Linked DNA regions of Homo sapiens: region 1 is linked to region 2. The links are contacts of gene promoters, found by promoter capture Hi-C in blood cells and fetal thymus (Javierre and others, 2016). All regions are on one chromosome and are shown on one strand. Each heading gives the region's core, a stretch centred on a gene start or on the middle of the fragment in contact. The rest is flanking DNA. Distances are from core to core; before and after follow the strand shown.

Region 1 (7,237 bases), core at 3,772-6,271, 690 kb after region 2:
AATAAGAGGCAGAAAGAAAGTCAGGATTGAAGTATTTCTCTATTTCATAATAGAATTTGATAAAAATAAGTGTATCAGACAAGATAGGCTAGGTCATGCTCCAATAACAAACAACAAATTTGTATGACTTAAAACAGAGGCATGTGAATTAAAACAACAACGGCTCATTTCTAACAAAAGCTATATTTCCAATATGGCTGGTGGAATAGGATCAGCCCTTCATAACAACTCAGGAGCACAGGCTGACAGTGCAACAACTCTCTGTCTCAGAAGGGAAGGAGAGCTCTGGAGTTTCATCAGGGTAAATAACCACCTTAATCGGAAGGTGACGCTTCACATCTGCTCATAACTCATTGGCCAGAAAAAGTCCTAACCATGATCCTAACCAATCTCAGAATTCCCATGAAATACAATCTAGCCAAAGTGGAAGGAAATGGAAAAGATTTGGTGAACTGTATCAGTGATTATCACAATACATTTTCACATTCATTGAACAACACACACCAAATCTAAAATAAAATTATGTATGACTTTTGCACAGTTTATTCCAGTGCAATGTGAAAAATATGAAGGTACCTGAAAATGATCTGTATGATATTTATAATGATCAGTGTCACGGCCAGGGGCGATGGCTCCCATCTGTAATCCCAGCACTTTGGAAGATGGAGGCAGGTGGATCACCTAAGGTCAGGAGTTTAAGACCAGCCTGGCCAACATGGCAAAATTCTGTCTCTACTAAAAATACAAAAATTAGCTGGGCGTGGTGGCAGGTGTCTGTAATCCCAGCTATTCAGGAGGCTGAGGCACAAGAATTGCTTGGACCCAGGAGACGAAGGTTGCAGTGAGCCGAGATCATGCCACTGCACTCCAGCCTGGGCAACAGAGTGAGACTCTCTCCAAAAAAAAAAAAAAAAAAAAAATCTGTCACAAAGCTCTACTACTTCAGCTGTTCAGAGTTGCTTTTCTTTCCAGATAATGCTATATCCTATGGAGAAGTACTGAGAATAGCTGAAAAGAATTGCTTAGGTTTAAATATACGGGAAAAAAAATTGGCTTCGATACTTTCTTCAGTGCTGCTTTGCTCTGCTCTTACCAGATTCTCCTTCAAAAACACTGCACTTTTCAACAGAGGATGGAAGACATCTGATGGTTAAAGGAAAATTACTGTCACTCTTACCACTAACATTCACACAGTATATCTGATTTCAGAAAATCACAACAAACCAATTACCATATTTCTGACAGCCGTACTTCACCCTTAAGTGGAATATATGTAAGATAGGAAAAGACATGAAGCCTAAGAAGGGTTGATGGTGCCTTGATTGATCATTAGAGGAAGCTTCCTCCAAAACATTTTGAATCTTCCTTTCATCTGTCATCCTGGAAGGTATATCCCTCACACCTTCAGTGATGGATATACCTTTCTTTTGTAAGGTCCAAGAACTACTGTAAATGCAGATGTAAAAAAGAACCTACATGATGCTAAGAAAGAATACTTATGAAAATACGGTATCTGTAAATTGATTTACTTAAAGCAATAAATATTCCCCTGCCCCTTGGACTATGCCACACCATAAGAACTTTAAGTTGATGTAGCTTTAATTCTTGCCCTGCCTAATGACAAAGAACATTTGCCAAAGAGTATGATGAATAATGAAATCACTTAAAGTGGAGGCTTTCCATTTTACCACAACCTACAGCAAGAAATATATTTATATTATGATCCAATGCACATATACATATTGTTTCATGAAACAATAATTACCCCTACTACATGTGATGCATTTAGATATTTTTTATCCTAATGTCTTTCTTTTAATGCTGGTCTCTATTCACTAAATTGATTTCACAGCCAACTAATGATTCACAGCACACAATTGGAAAACACAGGACTACAGAAAATAGAAATATATAAGGAAATATCTGATTTATAGAGCAATCTCTGATTATAAAAAGTGCTCTTAAAACTGCATTATCTTGGCGGTGTAAATGGGTAAGCCAAGGTCTGGTGAAGTCAATATCCATAGGAGGTTCAATTTTATTCTATTCATTTCATTTTTCCATCCCTAATATTCCAACTTTCCTATTGATAAGTAACAGTCTCTGATTGGCCAATTTCAATGGCTTACTCCTTCTAATCCTGTGGTAGGCTAAAACTGTTCCCCAAAGATAACAGAGTCTAATCCCTGGGACCTGCAAATGTTACCAGATACGGGGAAAAGGCCTTTGAAGATGTGACTAAATTAAGGATCTTCAGATTGAGAGAGTATTTTGGATTAGCTCCATGGGCCTTAAATGCAATTACACATTCCTAAAAGGGAGGCAATGGGAAGTCTGACACACATAGTGAAGGCAATGTGAAAAGGGAGCAGAGATGTGAAGATGTTGGCCTTGAAGTCTAAAGTGATGTGGCCACAAGCCAATGAATGCCAGCAGCCACCAGAAGCTGGAAGAGTCAAAGAACTGATTCTCCCCTAGAGTCTCTGGAGGGAACACAGCCCTGTCAACATCTTGATTTTGGCCCAGTGATGCTGATTTTGAATTTATGGCCTCTAGAACTGTAAGATAATAAATTTCAGTTGCTCTACAACACCAAGTTTGTGGTATTTTATTATAGCAGCCTCAGGAAACTAATATGAACCCCCATGAAATTGACTTAATAAAAGTGATAGTGCAAAGTACCTAAACAGTCACCTGAAACTCTATATACCTAGCTATGTTTCAAGAAAGATTTATGGTAGCTTATAGTAATTCACAAAACATTGATAACACCAATAATTCATACGTGAAAAGGAAAAAACAGGAAGGATATACAAAACGAAGCCAACAAGGTTTATGCAAAAAATATATATATGTGTGTGTATATATATATATACACACACATATATATAGCTCTTGCCTCGAGCCAATTAAAATTTGGCTTTAAACCAGCAGCTTACACGTAAAGGAAGTCTTCTTGTTTATATGATTCAGTGGCCATTACATAAAAACAAGCCAACTCCACAGAAACAAGTACAAAAGACAAGACGAAATTTCTCCCAGGAGTTTCGCTCCTTAGGACTTCTTTTCTGGACTGTAGCCATGTATAGGATACTCATTACCCCTTTGTAAACTTAAATGTAGTCACTAGACCCAACTTTATAAGGCTGTTTACTATATCATATAAGGCTGATAACATGTCAAAACTTAACTTGATAAAAGCAAATCCTATAGCATAGATTGATTAGACGTCAAATTCTAACTTAAAAGTAAATTCTGTAGGAGGAAAGAGGGTGTAAATACAATACCCACTAGGTAGGCAACTCACTACCGATATTAATTCCAGGGTACATTTTGAAATATTTATAAAATGCCTTGAACGATACTCAGAAAACGAGTACAGTTTCCTCACCCAAACTATCAAACATTGAGTAAGTGCTGCATACAATGCCTATGGGATGTGGCTTGCTTGAAAACAGATTTAGTATGGGGTGAAATACTCACAATGCTTTCTACTATCTGCCCAGCGAGGTCTAAGATAACTACTGAGGAGACAAACGTTCCATCCCCTACTCCCTGAAGAAGCTCCTGGGTCAATGGGGGAAAGCGCTCCTAACCCAGTAGCAAGGAAGGCTTGCAGCTAGGGATCCTAATTAACTATTAGAAGATGAGCAGATAGATGGAAGGGGAGGGGGATGGCGCCGCAAGTCGGTCAGAAAGACCACACGGCACACGCATCGCCATTGCTTCAGAGCTTTTGGAGGCAGGTCTGTAGCCATTCCCACCAAAACATACTACCGAACCGTGCATGCCCTTCCAGGAGAGCCAGACCTTTCTAACTCTCCCCAGCCCACCACCTCCCCGGGTCCTCCGCACAGGCGGCGGCGCTAGCCTTACTGCGCAGGCGCCAGGTACACCTCGGAGGCCTCAGGAGGGGGAGCCAGTAACTCCGGGTCGTTCACTAGGGCTCCGCTCTAGCTGCCAAGCTTCCGTTTCTCTACTGCTCCCCGTAATAGTTGCCTGCGCGAGCTTGGAGCCGGGTAGAGGGCGGGCCTTCCGGGACGAGGGCGCGTGGGTGAGGAAGGTCAGGTCTAGGTAAGGCTGTCGGTGACTTTGGGGGTCTGCAGCAAGGGGCGATGGCTGCGAAGTCTACGGGGGTCTCCAACCTTGTAGAGTCGCCAGGAATAGGGCGAATCCACTTCATTAGTGACCAGCTCGGGCGGTTCACGTGCATCACACAAATAACTTGGCCTTTTTCTGCCTCAGTTGGGGGATTTCTTAAACGTAGAATACCCGCGTTTCCGCTGCCGTAATTTCCTCTCAGGCGCAATTACTCTCTTCCATATTGGTTAACAGTAGAAGGCTCAGTTTCTCTGCTCATCACACGGCCTTCGGCACTGTAGCTTTGGGTGGTGGGCTGCAGATTAATTTTGTAACCACCTTAAGAAAAATACGGTAAGGTGATATTTAAGAAAAATATTTGCGAAATGCGCTCCCGAGTCAAACATCGGTTGACTTGACAATACTACAGTTTCCATCACAGTCAGGCATGATCGAGTCAGGTGGAGGGAGTTGAAGATTGTTCTTGATGAACTGAATGCAGCTAATACATTTTCAGTGCCGTTGATGCCTCTATGACTCCGTAAAATAATCGGTACCGGGTTTTTTTGTTTTTAAGCATTCTGTTGAGATTGTTTTTATGTTTAGATTGTTTCTATGACAACGTGTGTACACTGTATGTGAATTCCTTGGATCCTGATGGTTATTAGGGTGGGCACTGTGCCGTGAATTTTGCATATTAGCTTCACATCGCAGATAGTATGACTGTCCTCGTGTAGTCGATGAGAGAACCTGGCAGAGAATAAGCACCATTACAAAAACGACGTGGCCATTAAAAGGCAGAGGCGAGATTCCAACCAGCTTTTTTATTCTGCAGCTGGTGCGTTCTGCTAACCAATGGTTTTTGGGAAACTGGAGAAAGCTCTCTCCCAGAACAATTTACACACACACATACATACACATATCGGCATACAGATGTACACTTCCACTGTTTTCAAAACGCTGAAGCACATCCCGGTTAAGAACTCTTGCACTTCATCTTTACCTTTCAAAGAGAAAAGGCAAACCTAATACAAAGCCACTTATTGAAATAATCTTTTAAATGCATCAGACCTATCAAAAAGATCAAAGAAGTTTGCCCTGTTATGCCAAAGTAAAAATATGGGAATTTTCTTCTCATGTGGGCTTAATTTGTTTTGCTCAGCACATTTGAGTAATTTGTTTTTGCTTAGCATTTTCAGCTCCAGTTAACTTTTTTCATGAGAGTACAGTTTTCTTTAGTTCACATTTAAAGAAAGGTAACACTTAAAGTGACTTGTACTCCCCGAGAATGGTTTCATGTGAATCAAAATGTAATTGACATGCACGTTGTAAGAAAAGCTCCCGTGTTATTCTTCGTGAGAGACATGTGTCTGTGCACTGTGGAAGGAAACAACAAAGCAGTGTCATTGGTAATTGTTAAAACCACTTTCAGTTTCCTCCTGTTTAGCAAGTGGGCCTTTGTTTCTAGTAAGGGATTCAGGTTTGAAAAGGCTTATTCCCTTTCTCTGTCATAAAACTTTAGGACTTGGATTTTATGATATAACCATGTTCCAGCCTATTCTAGTGTGACCTTTTTACTTACAAGTTATGTATCCCAGTAATTTGCCACATTCCAAAATGGGCATGGACATAACAGCAGCATCCTGTGATGGCTTCAGTGACTACTGTCCTACTGAGTCCCTTCCTCCTCCTGGCTATCTTGTCAAGTTATCAAGGTGCTGGTCCTCTCCCTATGTTTCTCTGGCTGTCAGTCTTTGTAAATGAGGTCATCATTCCAGGGAGGCACAAAGTTTTTACTATATGGAGTATCTATCTGTCTGTCTCTCTCTCTTTTTTTTTTTTTCTTAAACATGATTAAGAACAAGGAATAAACAAATGTGTCTATGTAGAATATATGAAAACCAAACTTACAGATCTGGGCTCGTTCTTTTTTGTAAGTTACCATTTACTACTCAGTGCCACTGTTACTCATTTTCGCACTAGTCATGCAAGCTTTGTTTTCAGAAAAGGAGACTCAGAGAAGATGAGTAACTGTTCACAATAACCCAAGGATTAAGTGACAGAGCCAGTAGTCAAACCTAGGCCTCAGGAATCCCTGTTGCCTCTTCATTGACAAATAAAGGGACTTGGAATTCAGAACAGATTTTCCTGAAAACACTGTAACAAACTGATAGTTCCCATACCAGCTTACAGATAACTAACTGTGGAAATACTGTGCAATTACAGCAGAAATATATTCTGATGCCACAATGGTAATTAAGCAAACAAAGCAAAGTTGATGAAGCAACTATTGTTTTTTAATCTAATGTTTGGAAAAAGGTAACTTTAAAGGGCAAAGGAAGAGAAAAAGCATGCAAAGAAACTAGGTGACTCTGGACATTTGCAAGGCTTTTTAGAGGTTTATGGCACTGATTTGTTTATACATTAAACTGCTAAATGAATTTTTTTCACCTTGAGACTATAACCCTAGTCCTAACAACCCCACCCCCAACCAGAGTTGGCAAAGAAGTGAATCAGGAAACTGAGAATGCTGAATGGAAAAGGAAGAACAGGCTTGTAGGTGATCTGCAGATGGTGGGGAGGGAGGGGTGGACGTTGGATCTGACAGTTCTACCGTTGCCAGCCTTCAGGTGGCACTATTGACCCAAAATTGCTTGGTTGGTGTTCTGAATGGTTTTGAGGTTGACAGTGGTTTGAGATCAGCCTCTGCTTTTTTTTTTTTTTTTTTTTTGACACACAATCTTGCTCTGTCACTCAGGCTATAGAGTACAGTAGTGCAGTCATAACTTAGTGTAACCTCAAACTCCTGTGCTCAAGTGATGTCCCCCTCCTCAGCCTCCACGAGTAGCTGGAACTACAGGTGTGCACTACCATAGCAGACTAATTTTCTTATTTTCTTTTGTTTTTTGTTTTTTTTTCTGTAAAAACAAGATTTCTCCATGTTGCCTGGGCTGGTCTTGAAGTCCTGACCTCAAGCGATCCTCCCACCTCAGCCTCTCAAAGTACTGGGATTATAGGCATGAGCTACCATGCCCAGCCTCCTCTGTTAATGGATCTTGAAACAGGCATTAAAACTTCCTTAATTTAAACACGGTTTGTTTTCTTACAAGAACTATTTTGAAATTCACTTGGCACCATTTTTATGTAGGAGGGTTTT
Region 2 (6,619 bases), core at 2,972-5,471:
GACTACATTGTTTGCCTAGGGAGGCAGCTATGCCATTGCAATGGTTGAGGTCTTATGTTATCGGCAGTAATACTGTTAGAAACTTGCACCATTCACCTTTTCATGTATTGTTACTCAGAAGATAATGATTGTGGCTAAGTCTTCAGAATAAGAAAGGTGTAACAATGAGTACAAAAAAGATATCCCAAATTTGGACAACTAAATAATAAGAATTGCATAGTTGCTGATCTGGATGACCCAAGGGAATCCCTAGAGGTGCTACCTATGGCCTCTGGCCCATGGCCTCACTATTTTTTTGGTCACATTGTAGCCTTTTCTTCATTTTTAGCCTCTTTCCATTATGAAAAATTTCATCTCTGCTTCAGTATATGTTAATCCCACAGGCATCCATCCCAGCATAAAGCTTCAGGTGATAGTTGAGATGATGTGTCAAAAGGGGGACCCATGTAATCTGTGGCAATAAGAGGAAAAGGGGAGGGTTTCCCCCTTAATGCCTAACATATAGTAGGTGTTCAATAAATTGTTTTTGGATGAATTTGGGGAAATAAATTAATATATTTCAATCATGTTTAAAATACTCCATATTTGACTTTTTAAAAAAAATTTGAATTTTTTTCTTAATGTGTCAGGAGTTGCTGCACAGGGGGAAAGCGAAGTTCCCAGGAGTAAGATGTGCAAGAAGCGGGCAGCCTTGCATCTCAGGGCTGAGTTCCCTCAACTGTGTGCTTGAGGGAAGTTCTCCCCTTGCAGACACACTGCTGAGTGATAAGGAAGCACCTAGACTCCACTCTGACCAGACTTGGTTCTGAGGCCTATGAAATGTTGATGGGAAGAACAGAAGCAGGAAAATCTATCTATTCAAATTTGCAAGACGTGGAAACTTTTATTCACCTTCCTGGTTAGACTGTTCCTTTGTCAAAGTAAAGCTAAGGCCATGGAAAATGAGCTATTTGAGAGTTTGTCGCTCCAAGGAAGAACATGCTGGCCTAATTGTCCCCCAAGTCAGGAGAGAGAATTGTAAAAAACACTTAAACAGGCCTAAGTAAAGGTCCAGCACATTATTTATTTAAGACTGAATTAGAACTGAGTCATTCCGACTCTGAAAAAAGAGTGTTGTTGGATTCTTATGTATTTAATGGGTCTGCCCTATTGAAAACCATTGTGAAGTATGGTTTCCCAAGCAAGAAATGACACTTTCACTGTCAGTCTTTCTAGGAGTCTGGCAGAATCCAGGACCGGGATTACCCTTATTTATGAAGCGACCTTAGACTAACAGTGGCTCTCTGGGTCTCCAGACAATTGGCCAGGGACTCTAAAAACCAGAAACAAAGTTGAGAGAACTCCATGCTGGTGGAGAAAAACAGCTGGCCTTTATCACCAGAATGTGCCCCATAGAAGCAGCAAAGCAGCAAGCGACGTTCTTAAACAAGGGCCTGTGGGCCTCGTCAAGATCTGGAGGAATCATCTACGACTCACTGCTGAGTGAGAGGGCTAGGCAGTGTCTTTAAGGTCCTGCCAGCTTTAACATTGTATGCTTTTTCTTTTGTTCAATCTCTCACCACAACTGGAAGTGTTGCCTCAACTACACAGGAGAAAGTTTGCAGTAACTTAGAGAAAACATTATTTTAATCACCAGTGTATGTTCTCCTGCTCCCTGGACAAATCCATCAGCAGCGGCAACACTGACCAGGTCCAGATTGGGGCCGCTGCGGTGGATGTGAATCCATTGAAACTAGGGGTCTCCAGTGCTCCTGACTCCTCACAGCTCTGTTCCTATGACAAGGATGGTCAGCAAAGCCAGCAACCTTGAAGGGGGACCTTCTTCTAATCTCCTCCCTGCCTGCTGAGAGAGTGTACAGAAGCAGCCACTTGTCAGCTGCGATGAATCCAATGATAATTACATAAATCATTAACAATACTTGATATTTGCCCATCACATTTCTCATTTCAAAGTGCTCATAAAATTGTATCTCATGGGTGGCACTGCCGGCACAACAGAATTCCAAGGAAGGATTACGGGCTAAGTAAATAAAGCCTGGAGGCTGCTTTAAAGCCTAGGAGTCTGTTATTAACCCTTTCCTCCTTTTTGTTTAACTTTTTCTCATGGAAATGTTCAAACATACCAAAAATAGAGAAAATACTATAATGAGTCCTTATGTATCCATAACCTAGCTTCAAAAATTATGTATGGCTTTACAGTCTTGTTTAGTTCATAACTGCAACTTCATTGAGGGTGAGTGCTGGGGTATTGTGAAGCAAATCAGTGACAACATATTTTACCCATGGATACTTTAGTGCCATTAATAAAAACCCCTAGGTTATTCTATTAATTTGAAATCTACTATAAATCTATCTGATGAATAAATCAAACAGATTTTAACAAATTGCTTCTCTTGCCAAAGTTTCCCATTTGCTAGAACTAGAGATTATTCATCAAAATAGCTGTGACAGTAGAAACATACCACTTGTCTACACACACAACACATAGCATACTTAGAATAGGAATAGATCTCTGATTTGATGTCCCAGTAATTTAGAGATTGATGATATCCTACCGATACTTTAAGGAGCAGACATTTTAAAACGATGGTACAGACCCACTAGTCTGACCTTTTCTCTGTTAGTCACAGTTGGGCTGTGGTCATTCCCGGAGTCCCTAAGATTAGAACAGGTAATGGGTCACCTGTGTGACCTGCACCAAGGCCAGCCCCACCGCCCCCGGCCACAGAAATAAGATCTCTCTCTCTCTCTGTCTGTCTCTGTGTGTGTATGTATGTGTGTATGTCTGTTTCTGCCTCTCCCACATCACATACATACATACACACACACACACACACACACACAGTGCCTCACTGGGAAGAAATGAGCAGGTATGGAGGAGACATTCTCAGAGATGGATCTCTACTGTGCTCCGTCTTGACTTATTTGCTGTCAGTGCTCCAAGGGATGAGCTCTGGAGGTCATCAGTAACTTGGTCAAACATCCACAGCTACTTCTTCATCCTTCTGATCCAATCAAGAGATTCCTATGCTGAAGTTTTACCTTTCAGGAAAGGCTGAACTAAATATGTAAATAATGAAAGTAGACCCTGTTCTTGGGGGTAAAATGCTGCATAAGTACATTCTTTATTGTTATATCATAGATTTTAGATTAGAAGTGGCAGCCTAGGGCAGTCATTGATTATCTTCTTAGGGATAGGGGTTAAATCACATTATCATTGCAGTGCTGACGTGTAGGACACGGAGGTTCATAAACATCCCGTGGAGTAGCACCCAGCACATAGCTCTACTGGGTCCTTTTGCGAACAGGCAAACCATGGAGCCTTGCTGAACCCTGGATGAACTGTGTACCTCCTTCTCTTGCCACCTCCTTCTTTCTATTTTAATAGCTATTCCTATTTTTATACACATCTCCTCTTAAAGAGTTACTTAGCTGCTAGATTTACCTCAAGGATTGAGGCATGTAAAATTTATTTTTAAATATAAAATGGGGGTTCACAGAAAACCCCTAATCCATTTCCAAAGCCATCAGCTTTAGAGCTGACTTTCCTCTTTCTCCCCTGAGCAACTTCCTTTTCCTGATCTTCTGAGGGAATATCCCTCGTCCCACAAATGCTCCAGCACCTCCTAATTTAATACCCTCAAGTTGTATATATACCAGGAAATAAACTCATAATCTCCATCCTAATCAGTTTGTAATATAAAAGGAAGAACAAAATTCCCAAACTTTAACCCTATGGCCTTTTCAGTGTTTATTGATGAGTATATTGCAAACACCTGGGTAGCCAGAGCACCTCTGCTTCACTCCTCTGCTTAGAAGCAGCTTCTGCCACACATCCAGGATTATGTAATACATATCTGTCACGGTCCACAGGACCAGCGGACTTTAAAAAATAATGGTGACATAAAAACTCACAGTGGTAGCTATACCACGGAACCCTAGGTGAGAAGGCACCTCCACCCGCACACAGGTGTATGGACGCAAGGATGAACGTTCCGGCCGCACGCGTCCCACACACGGACGTGCACACGGGCGCCTCCGAATAGGCTCGCGGTTCCCGAAGCCGGCTCCGCGGACGCCTGCTCTGGCTCCGTGGGAAAGGCGCCTCCGCGGCGGGGCCCCGGGCAGCGCCAGACCCGGCGGGCGGCGGCGGCGTTGGCGCGGCCAGGCGAGGGGGGTTCCCGCAGCCCGCCCGCCCCGCCCCTCGCGCCCGCGGCTCCGCCTCGCCTAGCCATGGTGGAGCAGGGAGACGCGGCGCCGCTGCTGCGCTGGGCCGAGGGCCCCGCCGTCTCCCTGCCGCAGGCCCCGCAGCCGCAGGCGGGAGGCTGGGGCCGGGGCGGCGGCGGGGGCGCCCGGCCGGCCGCGGAGCCGCCCCGGAGGCGGGAGCCCGAGGAGCCGGCCGCCCCGGAGGTGCTGCTGCAGCCCGGGCGCCTGGAGCTGGGCGACGTGGAGGAGGACCAGGTGGTGGCCGTGTTCGTGGTCACCTTCGACCCCCGCTCGGGTGAGGGCCGCGCCGGGGCCAGGCGCGTGGGGAGGGTCGGGGTGCCCCCGAGCTTTGGGGGCGCGGGGGAGGGGCTCGCTGCGCGCGCACCTGCCCTCCCGGCCCCGCACCCCGCACCAGGGCCGGCCCCGGGCTCCCGGGCTTGGGGAAGGGCGGGGGTCGGCCAGTCCTCAGCTCTCTCCCTCGGGGCGCAGCTGGGTGCTGGCGCGCGGCCTCTCGGAGCGGCCCCGAGGGCTTTGTTCCAGCCCCGCCGACCTCCTCTCCCCTCCCCTCCTCTCCTCTGAGTCCCAGCCCCACAGTGGTGTTCGCACTTCAGTGACAGGGCATCCGGTTTGTGGCCACGTTGGGTTTTGTTTTCTTTTCTTGGGGGCTAGAAGATTTTTCACGTTGTGCGGAGGAAACCCCCCGGGCGAGCGCCCTGAGCTCCCCGCTCGCCCCCCATCCCGTCCCCCGCTCCCCGCTCGCCCCCCACCCCGTCCCCCGCTCCCCGCTCGCCCCCCACCCCGTCCCCCGCTCCCCGCTCGCCCTAGCTCCCCGTCGCTTCCTCTGGGGTAACTTTCCTAGCGGCCAAGTTCACTTTCTCTGACTGCATTATTTTGAGGAATTAACGCCGGGAGCATTAAGGGATGGGGCTGAGGGATTCAGCTGAAGGCTGATTAAAGGAGAAGCCTCCCCGGATAGGCTGTCTTTCGGAGATGCTTGGAGAATTAAAGTCTTATCCCACATAATCTTAGCCTAACCACCCGGCAGGGGGGTGTGCGTTTTCCAGGTGAGAGTCCACGGGGGACAGAAGGTGGAAGAACGACCCTGCGCGCCCAGGAAGCCTTGGAGGGTCAGCTAGGGACTTCTGACTCTGAGAGTGGCTCTGCTGTTCGGGGTTGGGGGAAGGAGGTGTCATCGCAGGAGTCGTGGTGTCAGGGCTTAAGGAAACCCAGGTGTGACTGTCAATGTCTCCAGGGCAGCTGCTGGAGTGTGGAGTGCCTGTTCGTGCGGGAAAATATTGGCTGCTTTCTGGGATGAGGTGGGATGGAGTGGAGAAAAAAAGGGGTTAGGATCTGGAGAAGGGGAATCTGGTATGGCAGCTGATGATGGGTTCCAGGCCGGTAATTTTGGGGTTCTCAGCTGTAGGACACAGGAAGAATGTGGGATTCACTGTGGAGCTCCATTTGCAGGGACAGAGTTTGTGGGGACAATTCAGGCCTTTGTGACTTCTGCTTGTTTCTTTGCCACATTCCATGGCTTTCAAACTCTTTTGACTGATCTATCATGTGAAGTTAATTTTACATCACAACCAATATGCTCACATACACGTACAGTACTTATGTAACTGAAATAGACATTTCATGAAGTAGTGCTGACTCCTTCTACATGTAATGCATTCTTTTTTCTCTCTCTTTTTTTTTTTTTTCAGACAGTGTCTCACTCTGTCGCCTAGGCTGGAATGCAGTGGCTCTTTTCTCTTTTTTTTAAGTGTTCATCACACATGCTGGTTGACTCGCATTTGAGATTCCTAGATACCAGTAGTTTGAAAAGTATTGGTCTTTTTTGACCAAAGTTACCCGTAATGCTAGACAAAAACCAATACTTTGTAACTAATCATATTGCTTATACTGTACCCCATCATTTACAGGTAAACAGCTACCAGCATTTGACTTATCCTGGGAAATATTTCAGAGTAACTAGAAGGAATAGAAAGGGCACATTCACACGGTCTGATTTAGTATTGGTAGCTCCAGTGGTAGAGTCTTAGGGAAGGGAAAGAGAAAAGAAGTTTTATACTAATTACAGACAGATAGGGTGGATAATACTGATAATTGATCAATTATTGATATTGGCCAATTGATATCTATCAATTGATAAAAGCGCCAGAGGGCTAGTACCTGCCCCCATTCCTTGTCAGTCACAGGCAGTGAGCATGGCTTTGTGAATTTGTGTATACGGAGTGTGTGTGTGTGTGTGTGTGTGTGTGAGTGATGGTTTTCAGACTAAGGCTACTGTGCAAAGAAGGGATTGTAACACATTTAGACATTTTGTGCAGGCATTTTACTATAATGCTGTTTGATTTATTCTGATCACTGCTCTGTAATTTGATGATCATTTATACCCAATTTGTAAATG

What was found. Contacts are between HindIII fragments. The CHiCAGO score rates a contact against its expected background, and 5 or more counts as called.
Region 1: a fragment that was not itself captured here is called in contact with the fragment with the promoter of DENND11 in region 2 in 1 of 17 cell types (total B cells); the score reaches 5.9 in total B cells.

The regions. Positions count from the first base shown.
Region 1 is chr7:141,011,748-141,018,984 of GRCh38, reverse strand. MRPS33 (mitochondrial ribosomal protein S33) reads left to right here and starts at 4,033. Exons shown (of 3, transcript NM_053035.3): 1 at 4,033-4,074. RefSeq lists enhancers at 3,505-3,704, 4,225-4,274, 3,737-4,382, 5,525-5,594 and a silencer at 3,852-4,160. The HindIII fragment of the contact is 2,107 bases long and covers 3,968-6,074 here.
Region 2 is chr7:141,699,768-141,706,386 of GRCh38, reverse strand. DENND11 (DENN domain containing 11) reads left to right here and starts at 4,221. Exons shown (of 9, transcript NM_001080392.2): 1 at 4,221-4,501. The coding sequence starts at 4,234. It overlaps WEE2-AS1 (WEE2 antisense RNA 1), which reads left to right. Exons shown (of 4, transcript NR_199841.1): 4 at 630-2,384. The HindIII fragment of the contact is 7,386 bases long and covers 406-6,619 here.